Linked DNA regions of Homo sapiens: region 1 is linked to region 2. The links are contacts of gene promoters, found by promoter capture Hi-C in human tissues and cell types (Jung and others, 2019). All regions are on one chromosome and are shown on one strand. The core of a region is centred on a gene start or on the middle of the fragment in contact, and the rest is flanking DNA. Distances in the headings are between cores, read along the strand shown.

The links. Contacts are between HindIII fragments. The study calls those that stand out against the background at their distance.
Region 1: a fragment that was not itself captured here is called in contact with the fragment with the promoter of NID2 in region 2 in 1 of the 25 tissues and cell types used here (spleen).

Annotation. Positions count from the first base shown.
Region 1 is chr14:52,565,514-52,571,873 of GRCh38, reverse strand. The region is part of intron 1 of GPR137C (G protein-coupled receptor 137C); the gene reads right to left. Among named protein-coding and RNA genes, the nearest start is that of GPR137C, 16 kb to the right of the region's middle. RefSeq lists enhancers at 2,716-3,431, 3,432-4,147. The HindIII fragment of the contact is 3,840 bases long and covers 2,207-6,046 here.
Region 2 is chr14:52,067,380-52,074,347 of GRCh38, reverse strand. NID2 (nidogen 2) reads left to right here and starts at 5,289. Exons shown (of 22, transcript NM_007361.4): 1 at 5,289-5,581; 2 at 6,185-6,490. The coding sequence starts at 5,354. LOC105378180 (a long non-coding RNA gene) reads right to left here and starts at 5,112. Exons shown (of 2, transcript XR_943864.4): 1 at 2,841-5,112; 2 at 201-2,119. The HindIII fragment of the contact is 10,101 bases long and covers 1,345-6,968 here.

The DNA.
Region 1 (6,360 bases), core at 2,877-5,376, 500 kb before region 2:
TTCTTTTCTTCTTTATTAGTCTGGCTAGTGGTCTATTTTGTTAATCTTTTCAGAAAACCAGCTCCTGGAATCATTGATTTTTTGAAGGTTTTTTCGTATCTCTATCTCCTTCAGTTCTGCTCTGATCTTAGTTATTTCTTGTCTTCTGCTAGCTTTTGAATTTGTTTGCTCTTGCTTCTCTGGATCTTTTGTTATTAATATTTTTGAGATGGAGTCTCACACGGCCCCCTGGAGTGCAATGGCGCAATCTTGGCTCACTGCAACCTCCACCTCCCGGGTTCAAGTGATTCTCCTGCCTCAGCCTCCCAAGTAGCCAGGATTACAGATGCCTGCCACTGCACCCAGCTAATTGTTTATATTTTTAGTAGAGACGGGGTTTCACTATGTTGGCCAGGCTGGTCTCAAACTCCTGACTTCATGATCCACCCGCCTCGGCCTCTCTCTAGTTCTTTTTAGTTGTGACATTAGGGTGTCAATTTTAGATCTTTCCTGCTTTCTCCTGTGGGCATTTAGTGCTATAAATTTCCCTCTAAACACTGCTTTAGCTATGTCCCAGAGATTCTGGTATGATGTGTGTTTATTCTCATTGGTTTCAAAGAACTTATTCACTTCTGCCTTCATTTTGTTATTTACCCAGTTGTCATTCAGGAGCAGGTTGTTCAGTTTTCATGTAGTTGTGCAGTTTTGAGTGAGTTTCTTAATCCTGAGTTCTAATTTGATTGCACTGCGGTCTGAGTGACTGTTTATGATTTCCGTTCTTTTGCATTTGCTGAGGAATGTTTTACTTCCAATTACGTGGTCAATTTTAGAATAAGTGTGATGCGGTGCTGAGAAGAATGTATATTTCGTTGATTTGGGGTGGAGAATTCTGTAGCTGTCTATTAGGTCTGCTTGGTTCAGAACTGAGTTCAAGTCCTGAATATCCTTGTTAATTTTCTGTTTCGTTAATCTGTCTAATATGGACAGTGGGGTGTTAAAGTCTCCCACTATTATTGTGTGGGAGTCTAAGTCTCTTTGTAGGTCTCTAAGAACTTGCTTTATGAATCTGGGTGTTCCTGTATTGGGTGCATATATATTTAGGTTAGCTCTTCTTGTTTAATTGATCCCTTTAGCGTTATGTAATGCCCTTGTCCTTTTTGATCTTTGTTGGTTTAAAGTCTGCTTTATCAGAGACTAGGATTGCAACCCCTGCTTTTTTTTGCTTTCCATTTGCTTGGTAAATATTCCTCCATCCCTTTATTTTTAGCCTATATGTGTCTTTGCAGGTGAGACGGGTCTCCTGAATATAGGACATCAATGGGTCTTGACTCTTTATCCAAATTGCCAGTCTGTGTCTTTTAATTGGGTAATTTAGCCCGTTTACATTTAAGGTTAATATTGCTATGTGTGAATGTGATCCTGTCATTATGATGCTAGCTGGTTATTTTGCCCGTTAGTCGATGCAGTTTCTTCATAGGGTCGATGGTCTTTACAATCTGGTATGTTTTTGCAGTGGCTGCTACCGGTTGTTCCTTTCCATATTTAGTGCTTCCTTCAGAAGCTCTTGTAAGGCAGGCCTGGTGGTGACAAACTCTCTCAGCATTTGGTTGTCTGTAAAGGATTTTATTTCTCCTTCACTTACAAAGCTTAGTTTGGCTGGATATGAAATTCTGGGTTGAAAATTCTTTTCTTCAAGAATGTTGGAATATTGGCCCCCACTCTCTTCTGGCTTATAGGGTTTCTGCAGAGAGATATGCTGTTAGTCTGATGGGCTTCCCTTTGTGGGTAACCCGACCTTTCTCTCTAGCTGCCCTTAACATTTTTTCCTTCATTTCAACCTTGGTGAAACTGATGATTATGTGTCTTGCATTGCTCTTCTTGTGGAGTATCTTTGTGGTGTTCTCTGCATTTCCTGAATTTGAATGTTGGCTGTCTTGCTAGGTTAGGGACGTTCTCGTGGATAATATCCTGAAGAGTGTTTTCCCACTTCAGGATAATATCCTAAAGAGTGTTTTCCCACTTCAGGATAATATCCTGAAGAGTGTTTTCATTCTCCCCTTCACTTTCAGGCACACCAATCAAACATAAGTTTGGTCTTTTTCACATAGTCCCATATTTCTTGGAGGCTTTGTTCATTCCTTTTCATTCTTTTTTCTCTAATCTTGTCTTCACGCTTTATTTCATTAAGTTGATCTTCAATCTCTGATATCCTTTCTTCTGCTTGATAGATTTGACTATTGATACTTGTGTATGCTTCACGAAGTTCTCATGCTGTTTTTCAGCTCCATCAGGTCATTTATGTTCTTCTCTAAACTGGTTATTCTGGCTAGCAATTCCTCTAACCTTTTTTCAAGGTTCTTAGCTTCCTTGCATTGGGTTAGAACATGCTCCTTTAGCTTGGAGGAGTTCGTTATTATCCACCTTCTGAAGCCTACTTCTGTCAATTTGTCAAACTCATTCTCCATCCAGTTTTGTTCCCTTGCTGGTGAGGAGTTGTGATCCTTTGGAGGAGTAGATGCATTTTTTTTTTTTGGAATTTTCAGCCTTTCTGCACTGGTTTTTCCTCATCTTCATGGATTTACCTACCTTTGGTCTTTGACGCCAGTGCTCTTCAGATGGGGTTTTTGCATGGATGTCCTTTTTTGTTGATGTTGATGCCATTCCTTTCTGTTTGTTAGTTTTCCTTCTAACAGTCAGGCCCCTCCGGTGCAGGTCTGCTGGAGGTCCTCTCCAGACCCTGTTTGCCTGGGTATCACCAGCGGAGGCTGCCAAACAGCAAAGATTGCTGTCTGTACCTTCCTCTGGAAGCTTCGTCCCAGACGGGCACCCATCAGATGCCAGCCGGAGCTCTCCTGTTGCATAAGGTGTCTGTCGCCCCTTGCTGGGAGGTATCTCCCAGTCAGGAGGCAAAGTGGTCAGGGACCCAATTGAGGAGGCAGTCTGTCCCTTAGCAGAGCTCAAGCGCTGTGCTGGGAGATCCGCTGCTCTCTTAAGAGCCGGCAGGCAGTAATGTTTAAGTCTGCTGAAGCTGTGCCCACAGCCGCCCCTTCCCCCAGGTGCCCTGTCCCAGGGATATGGGAGTTTTCTCTATAAGCCCCTGACTGGGGCTGCTGCCTTTCTTTCAGAGATGCCCTGCTCAGAGAGGAGAAATCTACAGAGGCAGTCTGGCTACATTGGCTTTGCTGAGCTGCGGTTGGCTCCGCCCAGTTCTAACTTCCAGGTGGCTTTGTTTACACCCTGAGGGGAAAATCGCCTACTCTACACAGTAATTGCGGATGCCCCCTCCCCCCACCAAGCTCCAGTGTCTCAGGTCTCGCTGTGCTGGTAGCAAGAATTTCAAGTTAGTGGATCTTAGCTTGCTGGGCTCCATGGGAGTGGGATCCACTGAGCTACACCACTTGGCTCCCTGGCTTCAGCCCCCTTTCCAGGGGAGTGAACGGTTGTTTCGCTGGTGTTCCAGGTGCCACCGGGGTATGAAAAAAAAACTCCTGCAGTTAGCTCAGTGTCCACCCAAACAGCCAACCAGTTTTGTGCTTGAAACCCAGGGCCCTGGTGGTGTTGGCACCCAAGGGAATCTCCTGGTTTGCAGGTTGGGAAGACCGTGGAAAAAGCATAGTATCTGAGCTGGAATGCACCATTTTTCAAGGCAGAGTCCCTCATGGCTTTCCTTGACTAGGGGAGGGAGTTCCCTGACCCCTTGGGCTTCCCGGGTGAGGTGACGCCCCACCCTGCTTCTGCTCACCCTCCATGGGCTGCACCCACTGTCTAACCAGTCCCAATGAGATGAGCCAGGTACCTCAGTTGGAAATGCAGAAATCACCCACCTTCTGCGCTGATCTCCCTGGGATCTCCCTGGGAGCTGCAGACTGGAGCTGTTCCTATTTGGCCATCTTGCCAGCCACCAGGTAGTTAATCTGGATTTCTTAAGAACAATCTCAGCCAGGCGCGGTGGCTCACGCCTGTAATCCCAGCACTTTGGGAGACCCAGGCGGGCAGATCACGAGGTCAGAAGTTCGAGACCAGCCTGACCAACATGGTGAAACCCTGTCTCTACTAAAAATGCAAAAATTAGCCAGGCGTGGAGGCACGCACCTGTAATCCCAGCTACTCGGGAGGCTGGGGCAGATAAATCACTTGAACCTGGGAAGCAGAGGTTGCAGTGAGCAGAGATCACGCCACTGCACAAGAGACTGGGTAACAGGGCGATTCTCTGTCTCAAAAAAAAAAAAAAACCAAAAAAAAAAAGAACAATCTGAATGTAAGCAGTGATGAACGCTGACAATAGCTTACAACTGCTTATTCTAGAGTACGACAGAAAAAGCAGTGTAGTCAGAAGACCTGCCTTCCAATCCTTCTAATTTCTAATGTGGTTTAGGACAAATCCATGACCTAAAAGGTGAGAATACCTACAAACCTATCTTAATCATACAGTAAAGAAATAAAGGTATCTCAAATATTACCATAAATTAGAAAAAGTGTTTATCATATTGTCTAAAGTTTATATGTAAGAAAGGTGGCAGAGGAAAATCTTAATTTTAGAGATGCTCTTTTCTTTTTTTCTAAAATAATAATAGCTACCATTTGAGTCTTATTATGTTCTGCTATTTAAAGTATTATTCTATTTAACTTCACAACCCCATGAGGTAGGTACAGATGGAGAAACTATGATACAGAGAAGTTACGCACTTAAGGTCACTTAGCAAGGGTCCAAGGAATGGGACTCCAGTGCCCAAGTTCTTAACTACCTAATACCTCCATATCCAGAGTTCTTTTCTTTTTTTTCAGACGGTGTCTCACTTTGTCACCCAGGCTGGAGTGCAGTGGTGTGATCTTGGCTCACTGCAACCTCCACCTCCCGGGTTCAAGTGAGTCTCCTGCCGCAGCCTCCCAAGTAGTTGAGATTACAGGTACACACCACCATGCTCAGCTAATTTTTTGTATTTTTAGTAGAGTCAGGGTTTTACCATGTTGGCCAGGCTGGTCTCAAACTCCTGACCTCAGATGATCCACCCGCCTCAGCCTCCCAATGTGCTGGGATTACAGGCGTGAGCCACTGCACCTGGCCTGTATCCAGTGTTCTAATGGTATCCCTATAACATCCAGTTTACAAAACCTGGAAAATCTACCATCCATTTAAAAATGTAGGTGCCTTTAACCATGACTGATTCTAGCCTGTTAATTCATGTCTAAAAACGTATGTATAATGCTCCTAGCAGGTAATCATATCACTTTTTCTACTTTGGGCAAAAGGATTTCCTGCTACTGCCAAGTATATATGCTCTATTCTGACTTAAGTTACTGCTGTCAGTCCTGCTGTTTAATGTCCCATTCTTTTCAGAATAGATTTTTTAAAAAAATGCCAATTGGGCACTTAACAGCCTCAGCCCTCACATTGAACTTTCTCTTCCACAAAAGCTCTTGGAGAGAGAAAAAATACAAGGGGCTCCTGACCAATGAAACAACCTAAAATAGGGCTATAAAGGGATAAAAGTTTATATTCTCCTTAGAGTATACACTACACCACCTCAAACCAGCTCAAATGACTGGATCCTACATAGTAGCTGAGGAGAGTACAAATTTTTAAGAAAATATTTAAGCTTTTTTATACTCTGAGAAGACTGAGGCTGGAAAAACAAATTGTAGAGTGTGATTAATATGCTAATGAAAATGGTAGCTGTAATTGAGTTTTTGTAAGAGAAGAGAAGGTACAAATTTGAAATATTATTCTAGAAGGATGATGATCCCTGGGTCCTAAATAAATTTTGATCAGTTTTAACGTGTTATGTATAACTCTGTTTAACTGGCATCTATATCTCAGAGACAGAATTGAGATACTGTATTAGATCACAGAACTAGGTACTAAGGAGTTTAAGCAAAAATTCTCAAATTCTGCATTGCTTTATTAGTATCAGCATACTAGAATTCAAGGTATCTTAGATATCACTGAGACTAACCACTTTACAAATTATACAACTGGCCCAGAAAAATAATGATTTGCAAATATCAATTATTCATATAAAGCAGAATTTGGACTAGAATTCTGGTTCCCAGATTCCTTGTTCAGGGCCATTCATGATGTACTATCTTAAACATACCCCTTTACCAAAGTTAAAATAATAAGATTACAAGGACACTTAATTTTTAGAAGTTTGTCTTTATTTAAAACAAATTAGATGAAATGTTCCATGAAGTTAGATTCTGATTTTGTTTGTGGAGGTGGAAAGAAGAAAATGCTACTTTTAAATTCCCTTACTTTACCACTAATTTACTCCAAGTCATTAAGCACTGACCACATATATAACAGTGCTAGGTGTTGAAGGGTATGCAAAATTTCTTTTGAAATAAATGTAAAATAGTGGCTGATCTAAAGCAATATGTAGT
Region 2 (6,968 bases), core at 4,040-6,539:
CAAAAAGGCCCAGTAAGATAAAAACAAAAACTACCTATAGGGTTTGGTAATATGATTTTGCTGTTGGTCTTTCCCTGAGCAGTTCAGTGATGGGGTTGGGAAGATTATTTTTGCAGTGGAAAGAAGGAGGCAGGAAGTATAAATTCCTTTCCAGTAGAGTTTTTGAAAGTAAGAGAAATAAAACTAAGGCAACAAATAAGTAGGGAAATTTGTTTTTTATTTTTATGGGTAAGACTGGGCAGAGGGGATTTAGAGGCAGAGGGGAAGAGGCCAACAGGGAGGGAAGGGTTGAAGTTACAGGAGACTGTATCACTATAAGGGTGAAAGGCTTAATCATGATTGGCTTCCACCAATCTTAGGGCATCTGCCAGGGCTGAGGAAGCAACCCATCATTCCCGGGCTTATTGCACCCTTTACCTGAACAATATGGGGTTTCTAAAACCAAAAAAAAAAAAAAAAAAAAAAAAAAAAGAGGGGATGGCTGTTGGGAGAGGTTCCAATAGTGTCTGCCACACCAACCCTCTCTCTACTTAAAAATGTCACAGCAGAATTGCATCTGCAGTGATTCATATCAAAAGCTTGAACAGTCTTTTCATATTGCACATTTTAATTTAAATACTTTCTCACTTCATGGTTCTCCTTAGGCCTAACCTACTTTCAATTAAGCCTGAGTCTGTGAAGACATACTAACTTGTTCGAGTCTATTTTCTCTACATGCTAGCACACACACCCTGGAATTTAATGGATAGTAAAATTATGCAAAGAATCACTGTGTGCAACAAGAACTGGGACATTTCCTGCCAAGCCCACCTCCAATACAAACATGTACACACACCCATCGGTGCTATACATAGAACTTGCTCTTAAATACCAACATCCATTTGCCACACTGTGGAGCAAATATGCTTCCATTCTCATGATTAAAATAACAGGAAGTATCATCATTCTTGAAGTCTTGGTATTTATAACAACAATATAACCACAAAAAATATGTAACTGTGGAGACTCTTGATAAGGTCTATTGGCAAGGCATCTGGTAGCATCCTTGGCTTGATGAAAAGCCCTGTATCTAAATAATCTTACTTTTCAAGCAATGCTGTGATGTACCCTGAGGATCCAATCCAAGAAGGGTAAAAACTGCTACAGACGTCCTCTATAACCCCCAGCCTGAAAGGGGCCTTTGCCTCTTCAGCCAGTCTGGCAGGTCATGGAAATTCTACTCTTGCAAAGAGAGCTGTGGATACAAGCAAAGTATTTCTTCAGTATTTACTTTGACTGGTGAAAGAGCCACGGCAGATTTTTTTCTTTTTCCCCAAGACACAAAATGACATTTTAAAGAAGAAACCACTCTTGGTGCCATAGCGTCTTTTAAAAATAATATCAGAATAAAAGCTCAAAGGCATGTTCTCTTAAGCACAGCTGTCCAAAGCCTCCTATTTCAGGGAGAATTCAGCCACTTTATGCAGACAGGAAAACAAAACTGTTCGTTTTAGCATCTTCTCTATTGGAACTATTTTTTTGTACTCAGATTGCATCAGATTCAAAACTAGTGACATCCTCTTATGCTCTGTTTCCCCAACCAGATCATGAGCTCTTTAAGGTCAGGGGCCACATTTTGTACTCCTTTATTTCTTGCAGAGTTGTGTTTGTCATGGTGTACTTTCAGGAAATTGTTGTTGAATGGATGAATGAATGAAAGAATGACAAAAATGGGAGAGCAGTGGTAGGTGAGTTGCTAGGCAGCCTGGTAAAGAGGATTACAAGAGTCAGGTCAGATTAGCAGGAAAGGTGGTGTAGGGGAAAGAATGTTGCATTCTGAGCCAGCAGACATGGGTCCTAGTCCCAGGCTGGCTTGCTTGTCTTCACTCATTCAACAAACATTTCTTACACTTCAAGTGAGCCAGGCAGGCATTGCGGCAGACACTGAAGAAGGCAAAATCCCTGCCCTCCAGGTGTGGTGGTGGTGGTGGTGGTGGTGGTGGTAAGGGAAGCATGTGGAGATCAGGATTATGGGAGAGATGTGTGATAGGAGGTATGATCACGGCAAGCACAGGGCACATGGAAGCAAGGAGAAAGGGCTTCTAAATCAGACTGTGGATTCCAGGAAAGCTTCGTCCACCTGAAAGGAAAAGACAGAGGCACAAAATATAACAAAACATTTACTTGAGCCAAAGTGAGGACAGTTGCCCGGAAGACTTAGACCCAAGTAACCCTGGATATGAGCTTCATGCCGCCTTTATTACAAGCAGGTTTTTTACAGGCAGAAAAGGGGGACAGGGAGTAGGCCGATATGAAATTGTTTGTAAGGAATTCACATTGGTTTACAGAAACAACATTGCTCACTGATTGGCTATGCACTGTTAAGCTATAGGCTATGAGTGATAGTGTCCAGTGTGACATTATTAGGTTAATGTATAGTTACTTGTGGCAATAGCAAGCAGTTTCAAGGATGAATACATAGCTCAAAAGGGGGCAGTAGTGTTACTGGAAAGAGTTCCTGATCCAGACCCTAAGAGAGGGCTCCTGGATCTGGTGCAAGAAAGAATTTGGAGTGAGTCTACAAAGTAAAGTGAAAGTGACTTTATTAGATAAGTAAAGAAACAAAAGAATAGGCAGAGCAGTGGCGTCGGCTGCTTGACTGATTATACTTATGGTTATTTATTGATTATAAGCTAAATGGGGTGGATTATTAATGAGATTTTTGCAAAAGATGTGGGGAATTCTTTTCTCTTCCCAGATTCCTGAAGGAGGAGGGTTTTGATTCAAGCCTTAAAGATGAGAAGGTGTTGGCTTGAAATTGACCAAGAAATTGACCTTTTACTGTAGGTAAAAGGACTTACCTGTGAGGATGTTGTATTGGAGAATTAAAGTCTCAGCTTCAGGTGAGACTTCAGGGTGGCTGTGACGGGAGATAAAGTTAGAGACATAAACTAGAGCTACTTTCCAAAGGGCCTTGCTGCAATATAATTTAGTGGTTAGGAGTGGAGGTTTAGAGATCAGACAGAATTGGGTTCAAATCTCAGCTTTGGTACTTACCAGCCATGTGATAATAACTGATTTTTTTAAAATCCCATCTGAGCTTTAGTTTCCTTAACACAACGACTACCTGTTATCAGTTGTCTATTGCTGCATAACAAATTATCCCAAAATGTAATAGCTTAAAGCAACACACAGCTTCTTCAGCTTCTGAAGCTGAAGCTGTAATTCTCAGTTTTGGTTGGTCTGGAATCCCACCAAAACTATAATTATAATCTAACCAAAACTATAATTCTCAGTTTTGGTGGGTCTGGAATCTGCACCTGGCTTAGCTGGGTCCTCTGCTTCAGGGTCTCTTGCAAGGCTGCAATCAAATGTCAGCCAGCGCTGAGATACCATCTCAAGACCCAACTGGGGAAGGATCCGTTTCCAAGCTCACTGACATGGTTGTTGGCAGAATTCAGTTCCTTGCTGACTGTTGGCCAGAGGCTGCCCTCCTCAGTTCCTTGCTATGTGGGCCTCCCCGACATAACAGCTTGCTTCATCAAAATCAATGAGAGGGAAAGTCAACTAACAAGGAAGAAGCCACAATCTTATTTAGCCTTCTTCTCATCACTCTTGCCACACTATGTTTGTTAGAAATCACAAGGCCAGTCCACACTCCCAGGGCAGAGATTATACAGGGGAATGAACACCAGGAAATGGGGATCATTGGAGACCATCTCAGTGTTTGCTTGCCCCAAAGCTCATAGCTTAGTACCACTAAATAAATGTTAGTTATTATTATTATGCTGAATCGAGAGATAAAGTAAAACTACAGAGGGCCAGTAGTTTTATATCAGGGAGTAACTTCAGATGATGTTGGGCAAGTCAAGTCATCTGTCTTTGAACTTTCATTTCATCCTCAGTAAAATAAAAATACCTGACCCCAGAAAGAATGAGAAAATATATGTGCAAGCATAAATATATTTTTGGAACATCAAATATACAACTCTCCACTCTGAGGAAGCAAACTGCTTTGGGCCAGTTTTCCATTTTGTGTCTGCTCTATGAGTCTCACAGTCTGATGTCTTCACGTTTTTTAGCGTTTGGTCCAGTGGGCCCATAGGAATAAACACCTACAAAGAGCAGTGTGTCTCTGGAGAGTCCTTTAAGGCATTTCCAAGGATTTGCTTTTTGGTTTTTTTCTTTCTTTCGTTCTTTTTAAATATCTTTGCTTTTAAGGACCTCATGGGGGGCCTGGGAGAGAAAACAGACTGTCTGGGAAATTTTAAGCTCTTGATAATAAAAATGGTAATAAAATCTCCTCCAGCTCCTGAGGCTTCGCAGAGGGGATGTTTATGGTGGATGGGGTTCCCCTTCTCCTGCGCAGCTGGTTTCGAGGTTGTGCGGTTTCCAGTCCTGCGGAGCAGCTCAGGTTACCGCCTCCGTGGCCGCGGGGGAGGGCATCTCCGACGGCCGCAGCAATGGGCAAGAGATCAGGGTCTTCCCATCCCCGCGACTCGCCCCTTTCTGCCTGGTAACCAAGCGGGATGCCTCATCCTACTCCCCAAACGGAGCGGATCACACACAGTAGTATTTCATGGTCTTTCCTGCTGCGGTTTTCCCGGGGGAAGGTACTTCCAGAGGGTGGCCAAGTCTTCCCTAGCGGCCGGCCTTCGGGAGGGGGACAGAACTTAGGAGTCAGCCCTCTGCCTTCGTACAAAGGCTCGCTTCTCCTCAGGGCGTCTCTGGGTGGAGCGAAGCGGCCGAGGGGACCACGACAATGTCCCTTTGCTTTTCGGACCGATGGCCAGGCCTCCAGAGCCAGGAGCGCCCGGGACCCCAGGGCAGGGAGCAAAGCTCATACCGCAACCCCGCCACCCGCCCGCGCCCTGCCAGCCTGTTGGGGCCACAGCGCGCAGGCCAGCAGCCGCACTCGCCGCTGCGGGGTTCCCTTTGCGCTGAGCTCATCTCCTGCAACGCCGCTGCCCCAAACCTTGCGGGCCATTTGGTCCCGGGGGTGGGGCTCCTTGGGGGCCGCGGGGCAGCCCGGATGAGAGGATGACCCGGGAGCTCCCTGGGGGCGGAGTGGAAGGGGCAGCTCCAGGCAGCCCTGGCCAGGAGCTTTTACCCCGCCAGCCCCGCTGCTCCAGCGGCCGCTGCCTTAGAAAAGTTAACGAGAACCAGATGTGGTGGCCACTGCCGAACTTTCTCAGAGCCGGTGATTGGTCCCCAGCCGAGGGCCTCAGCCAATTAGCTTGCTGGGTGGGCCTGGAGTCCCGCCCCGCCCAGGCGCCCGCGGAGATCCAGGTTCGAGGCTGGCGCGGCGCGGAGAGTGGGCTGGAGGCCGGGGCGGGACGCGTTGTGCAGCGGGTAAGCGCACGGCCGAGCGAGCATGGAGGGGGACCGGGTGGCCGGGCGGCCGGTGCTGTCGTCGTTACCAGTGCTACTGCTGCTGCCGTTGCTAATGTTGCGGGCCGCGGCGCTGCACCCAGACGAGCTCTTCCCACACGGGGAGTCGTGGGGGGACCAGCTCCTGCAGGAAGGCGACGACGAAAGCTCAGCCGTGGTGAAGCTGGCGAATCCCCTGCACTTCTACGAAGCCCGATTCAGCAACCTCTACGTAAGTTCAGCCCCCTCCTGGCACTTTTCCCGCAGCTTCTTCCCTGGGGTCGGTCTCACGGAAACCCTGCCTCCAGAGGGGAGGAAACAGACCCCACTCCTGGAGCCCCCCAGCACCCTTGCGGTGGTACCCGGCCAGAGAGCGATGCCGCTGCCTGCCCCGCTGCTGTAGGGGAGCAAGAATGACCTGGAGGGGAGAGCAAGAATTGTTCGCAGCCACGTACGCGTCCCAGGCAGAAAAGGTGGCGTTGCTAGGGCGGCCAGCGGGCTTTGCAGTTAGGACCGCGAGAAGGCTGTGCCCGTCTGCGGAGCTGGGGTGTTCCCTCTTCAGACCTGGAGGCTTCCTCTCCGAGGACATGGGGCTCCGGGGTTGTGAGGGGAGTGAGAAGATAGGTGAACGAGTTTTAGGGCCCCTGGACCTACTGCAGCGCGGAGCTGGGACAGTCGCAAAAGTTGCGCTTGTTTCCCTGAATCCAGACTCCCTGGCCAGTGGGGAAGGAGAGAGAGGCTTTTTGCCTAAGTCAGTTCCCTTCCCTCCCTGCGCGAAAGGGTAGCGTCCTTGGGCTTGAGCGACTGTCACCTTTTTGTCCCTCTCCTCTCCCAGGTGGGCACCAACGGCATCATCTCCACTCAGGACTTCCCCAGGGAAACGCAGTATGTGGACTATGATTTCCCCACCGACTTCCCGGCCATCGCCCCTTTTCTGGCGGACATCGACACGAGCCACGGCAGAGGCCGAGTCCTGTACCGAGAGGACACCTCCCCCGCAGTGCTGGGCCTGGCCGCCCGCTATGTGCGCGCTGGCTTCCCGCGCTCTGCGCGCTTTACCCCCACCCACGCCTTCCTGGCCACCTGGGAGCAGGTAGGCGCTTACGAGGAGGTCAAGCGCGGGGCGCTGCCCTCGGGAGAGGTAAGTGACCAGGGATATTTGACTGCTGAGGAAATTGAAGGATGGGCTTAAATTCTGGGGCAGCGACCCAGGGACTGGCTCGGAGTTGTTTCTGAGCCTACTCTTGCGCTGAACCTGACCTTGGAGGCAGCAGGGCTGGAGTGGCTTGGGAGTGAGGAAAGACGTTGTCTCTAGGCATCTTCTGAGGCCCTGGCAGGTGGTCACTCCCTTGAGGAAAAAAATGCTTAGCGGATATGAGAGCGGGAGTGCAGATGTGGGAGCCCCTTTGAACATAAGGCAATTTACTGTTTGGTTGCTTATTTTTAGAACCATCTCTAAGTATACAAGTATTTCTAATTATATGTTCATTGAAGGGGAAAAAATCAGAAAATACAGATAATTTTAAAAAAGAAAACAACCACTCATTTTCCCACCACTGATAAACATTTTTCTGCGTACATTTTCAGAGTTTTTTCTTCTGCATATCTTTATTGCTGTC